2 separate regions of the Homo sapiens genome follow, and region 1 is linked to region 2. Evidence: promoter capture Hi-C in 16 types of primary human blood cells and fetal thymus (Javierre and others, 2016). All regions are on one chromosome and are shown on one strand. The core of a region is centred on a gene start or on the middle of the fragment in contact, and the rest is flanking DNA. Distances in the headings are between cores, read along the strand shown.

Evidence for each region. The method cuts DNA at HindIII sites, captures the fragments that hold promoters and counts their contacts. A CHiCAGO score of 5 or more calls a contact.
Region 1: a contact is called between a fragment that was not itself captured here and the fragment with the promoter of MLEC in region 2, in 1 of 17 cell types (naive B cells). The highest score is 5.0, in naive B cells.

Annotation. Positions count from the first base shown.
Region 1 is chr12:121,211,467-121,214,166 of GRCh38, forward strand. All of the region lies in intron 1 of P2RX4 (purinergic receptor P2X 4), which reads left to right. Among named protein-coding and RNA genes, the nearest start is that of P2RX4, 2.7 kb to the left of the region's middle. The HindIII fragment of the contact is 3,683 bases long and covers 1-2,700 here.
Region 2 is chr12:120,685,845-120,688,544 of GRCh38, forward strand. MLEC (malectin) reads left to right here and starts at 1,305. Exons shown (of 5, transcript NM_014730.4): 1 at 1,305-1,687. The coding sequence starts at 1,453. It overlaps LOC105370029 (a long non-coding RNA gene), which reads right to left and starts at 1,305. Exons shown (of 3, transcript XR_945449.3): 1 at 1,010-1,305. RefSeq lists silencers at 424-523, 1,364-1,663 and enhancers at 684-793, 884-1,013, 1,108-1,609. The HindIII fragment of the contact is 12,504 bases long and covers 1-2,700 here.

The DNA of each region.
Region 1 (2,700 bases), core at 53-2,552, 530 kb after region 2:
GCGTGAGCCCCCACGCGGGGCTGGCACCTGTTACAATTGAATACAACGCGAGAGAGAAGATGATAATTACCTTGCCACCTGGGGCCACTTTAAAGGCTTACCTGGGGTGTTCTGGTGTCTACAGCTGCTGGGCTGACACGTATTGCCTAGTGCAGTGGTCTCCAAACTGCACATTGGAACCATCTGGAAATCTTTGGCTCCCATCCCCAGACCCTTTTTTATTTTTTTGATGGAGTCTCCCTCTGTCGCCCAGGCTGGAGTGCAGTGGTGCAATCTTGGCTCGCTGCAACCTCCACCTCCCTGGTTCAAGCGATTCTCCTGCCTCAGCCTCCTGAGTAGCTGGGATTACAGGCACCCACCACCATGCCCGGCTAATTTTTGTATTTTTAGTAGGGACAGGGTTTCGCCATGTTGGCCAGGCTGGTCTCGAACTCCTGGCCTCAGGTGATCCACCCGCCGCAGCCTCCCAGAGTGCTGGGATTACAGGCGTGAGCCACCGCGCCCAGACGCATCCCCAGACCTTCTGATTTAATTGCTGCAGAGTATGATCGGCTGCCCAGGTGATTCTCATGTTCAGCAACGTTTCGGAACCAATGAACTGTGTTTCCCAAGTTTACCTGATCATGGAAGACTCATCTGAGGAATTGTTTAAAAGTAACAGATCCCCCCGTCTTTGGGGTGAGGTTTGGAATCTTAACACTGCCCAAGGGAAGCCCAAGCAGGTTTGGCTTCCAATATCTGTCAGCAGCAGCAGTAGATACAGACAGTATTCAAGAGGATGGCTTTCCAGGTGCAGACTCAACATCAGAACCACCTGGCCCACACCCAGATTTGGACTCATTGGCTCACACCTGTAGTCCCAGTGCTTTGGGAAGCCAAGGTGGGAGGATTGCTTGAGGCCAGGAGCTCAAGACCAGCCTGGACACAAGACCAGCCTGGACAACATAGCGAGACCCCATCTCTAAGAGAAAAATAAAGTTTAAAATGGTAAATTGTACTGATGGAGCAGTGCAAAAAAAAGAATTTTTTTTTTTTTTTTTTCTGAACACGGTGGCTCATGCCTATAATCTCAGCACTTTGGGAGGCCGAGGCGGGTGGATCACCTGAGGTCAGGAGTTCGAGACCAGCCTGGCCAACATGGTAAAACCCCGTCTCTACTAAAAGTACAAAAAATTAGCCAGGCCTAGTGGCTAATGCCTGTAATCCCGGCTACATGGGAGGCTGAGGCAGGAGAATCGTTTGAATCCAGGAGGCGGAGGTTGCAGTGAGCCCAGATTGCGCCACTGCACTCCAGCCTGGGCAACAAGAGCAAAACTCCATCTCAAATATATATATATATATATATATATATATATATATTTTTTTTTTTTTTTTGGAGACTCACTGCTAGCCAGTTAACTGAACTCACATCCCTGGTTGGACCTGAAGCATTTGGGGGCAGGAGCTCCCCTGCAGCTTTTTGCTTTTGGCGTTTGCTGCTAGTGGGAGGATCAGTGCACATCTACCTTAGGGTACCTGTAAAATTACAACTGCGGAAAATATCCATAGTGGTGTTGCACTGTATGGTAGCCACTAGTAACTTGCACCTGTTGAACACTTAACCGTTCCTACTCTACACTGAGATGTGCTATAACCTTAAAATACACACTGGATTTCAAAGACATAGTACAGAAAAAGAGGCTGGGCACAGTGGCTCATGCCTGAAATCACAGTACTTTGGGAGGCTGAGGTGGGAAGATCGCTTGAGCTCAAGAGTTTGAGACAAACCTGGGCAACATAGCGAGACCTTGCCTCTACAAAAAAATACAAAAATTAGCCTGGCATGGTGGCACACGCCTATAGGCCTACCTATTTGGGAGGTTGAGGCAGAAGGACTGCTTGAACCTGGGAGGTTGAGGCCACAGAGAGCTGTGATCACACCACCCTCCAGCCTGGGCAACAGAGCAAGACACTGTCTCAAAAAAACAAAGAGTACCACTATCACATGAAAACATTTTTTATTGATGACATGTTAAAATATTTTGGATATATTGGGTTACACAGAATATATCATTACAATTAATTTTTCCTGTCTCTTTTTTCTTTTTTTCTTTTTAAACGGCGCCTTGCTTTGTCACCCAGACTGGAGTGCAATGCACTGCAACCTCTGCCTCCCAGGCTCAAGTGATTCTACCATCTCAGCCTCTGGAATTATGGGACTACAGGTGCACACCACCATGACTGGCTAATTATTGTGTTTTTGTTTGTTTGTTTGTACAGATGAGAAATCTCATCTCTACAATCATGAGGTTTCCATGTTGCCCAGGCTGGTCTCGAACTCCTGAGCTCTAGCAATCTGTCTGCCTCGGCCTCCCAAAGTGCTGGGATTACAGGCATGAGCCACCGTGCCCAGCCCTTTCTATTTCTTTTTACTTTTTGACATGGCTACTAGAAACTTTTAAATTACAGGGTCTTGCCCTGTGGTAGCTCACGCCTGTAATCCCAATACTTTGGGAGGCTGAGGCAAGTGGATCCCTTGAGCTTAGGAATTTTGAGACCAGCCTGGGCAACGTAGTGAAACCCCATCTCTACCAAAAATACGAAAAATTAGCTTGGCATAGTGGCGCACACCTGTGGACCCAGCTACTTGGGAGGCTGAGGTGGGAGGATTGCTGTAGCCTGGGAGGCGGAGGTTGCAGTGAGCCAAGATTGTGCCACTGC
Region 2 (2,700 bases), core at 55-2,554:
TTTTTGTTCATGTAGCACAAAGCTCATTGCCTAAGTAGTAGGTAGGATTGGTAGATAAAATACAAGAAGTCCAGTTGTTTAAATTTTAATAAACAATGCATTTTTTTTTTTAGTATAAGTGGGTCCCATTTGCTTATCTGAAATTCAAATATAACTGGGCTTCTCCTATTTTATCTGCCAAATCTGACAACCCTGGTAGCAGGGACTTGATACATTTTTTTCCTTTTAGGGAGAATTTCTAAATCGACCAGTATTTATGGAAAATGCATAAGCGTTTTTTTGTTTTTTTTGTTTTTGCCTTGACTCTGCCCTACACTTGCGGTGCGACCCTTTGGCAAAATTCAGTCCCTTTCTATGCCTCAGTTTCCCCATCGGAAAAATGGGAGTTTGAACAGCGACCGAAGCGCAGGGATCGCCAGTGTGGGAGAGCGCCAGGTGAACTGTGAAGGAGCAGGGAGGGAGTTCGGGCCGTGCCCGTGCGGGACAACCCCGGTATCCACTCTGGGCACCGCCGGCGGCGACTCCCGCCAGCGCCTAGGGTGCCTCGGTCCCGCCCCTACGCAGCGGAGGCCGGCCAGAGGCCGTCGCCATGGAGACGCGAGCAGCCTGGCACCCACTCGCTCTCAAAGCCACGCGTTTCCGCTGCGTTGGAGCCTTCTCATTGGACGGCCGTCTGGACGCTACCACCCGCCCCGAGCCCGCTAAGGGGAGGGGGCGGGGCCTTATTCTCATGGGATTCGTTCCCTGGAGACCTGTGTCCGCGGCCTCTCTGGGAAAGCATGGGTCCTCTCCCTCACGCGGGGAAAAGGACTGCGTCTCTTAGGTCTGGAGAGTGTCCATTGCTTCTCCTACTAGAATTTATGCTCATGCTGCTCCCTGAGAAAAGAAGAGGGGGCGGGAAAGTCGGCCACGCCCCCTCCAGAGCCTATTTGGTCTCAGGAGCTAGAGCACCGGAAGTGCTGGCGACATGTCAGTGCGCCCTACCCTAAACCTTCCCCCCCCAGGCCACCTTTCCCATTCAGCTGTGGGATTCCGGGGCCGCCTGGGCGCTGCACCCGCCACTTCCGCATCGAACCGCCGCTTCAACCGAACTCACTCCCTCTGCGCGCGCTCCATCTGGTGCCCGACTGCTGGGCCGGCGCCTGGGAGAAGCCACGCCCTTTCCCGCGCCTGACAGCCAATGAGCGGGCGCCTCCCGGCGGGGTGGTGGGTAATTAATGAGGGCCGGGCGCTGATTGGCTGCAGCGTCGTGGCCGGGGGCAGGGCGGCGGGGTAGGTTGTTCCTGAGGTGGGAGGCGGTACCCGTGGCTGAGAAGAAGGAGGCCTGAGAGCGACATGTCCCCGGCGGCTCAGGCGGAGCGGCCCGTGGCGCTGTTTTTCTGAGTCCGGGGTGGCCTGGCAGCCGGCCGAGGACGAGGGTCGGCGGGGGCTGCCCCCGTGGTGGTGGCCGCCATGCTGGGAGCCTGGGCGGTTGAGGGAACCGCTGTGGCGCTCCTGCGACTGCTGCTGCTGCTGCTGCCGCCGGCGATCCGGGGACCCGGGCTCGGCGTGGCCGGCGTGGCCGGCGCGGCGGGGGCCGGGCTGCCCGAGAGCGTCATTTGGGCGGTCAACGCGGGTGGAGAGGCGCATGTGGACGTGCACGGGATCCACTTCCGCAAGGACCCTTTGGAAGGCCGGGTGGGCCGAGGTGAGAGTCCCCCTGCCGAGCCGCGGGATCCAGGGCCTGCTGTGCTGGGCGCAGCCGGCCGGGGGCTGCGGGCCCCGAGCCCCTTTCGACCCTGGGGCCGCGTCTCTGGAGCGAAGTTTCTCTCTGCAGCTTCTTCGGGGGCCCGCTCTGAGCTCAGGGCCTGGCACTGGCTCCAAGGTACCTAGAGTCATACAGGCAGAGAGTTGGCCAGAAGTTAGTTATATTTGGATTTCTCATCCTGCATTTTCTCAACCCCTCACTCCCATCCAAGCTGGGAGAGAAATGACGAAGGCGGCCTTTTGCTACCTCCAGGCCTCGCGGGTTGTAGGTCATGGGTGCCCCTGCTTCTCCTGTCGAGACAGTTCTTGGGAGATTCTCGTCGACCCAGGAATCGGCCGCTTTCCTTGCCCCTTCTGCAGGAGCGGGGCTTGATTCTTAGCCAGAATAGGAAGGAATCTTCGAAGAGAATGGGCCAGGAAAGTTTGATTGTAGCCTCCTCCCCCGCCCTCTTTTCGAGCGAAGAATATGTGTGCTTAAAAGTAGAATCGGCAGGCCGCCCCCAGAGGGTGGTTCTATCGAAGCCATCCTGCACGTGAGGCTGGTGGCTGTGTGTGAACTGGGTCAACCAGTGTAAGAATCCGAATGGTCTATCAGAGAATGCTTACAACCTCCCCTAGGTGATCCTGAGAGTTCTAATTCCAGCTTAGGGGGAAAATGATTGTGACTTAACTTGCTGGGCAACAGTGGTTTTTAACGGAGCTGCTCCCTTCCCAAAGTTAGTGTGTGTCAGAATTGCCAGGGCAGCTGGTTAAAAATGCAGATTCCTAGTCCCCACTCGAAATTGATTATAGTAGATTGAGCTTTTTTGCTGGGATCCAGGTTTCTGCACCAGGGGCTTGTGATGTAGGTTGCCCCGAGACCACCGTTTTGGAAGATCAGCTTTATAATCTTTGTTTCTTCTGTTGGAGGGATTGGAAAACAGGTTTCAGAAGGAAGTTCTTTGCTAGGAGATT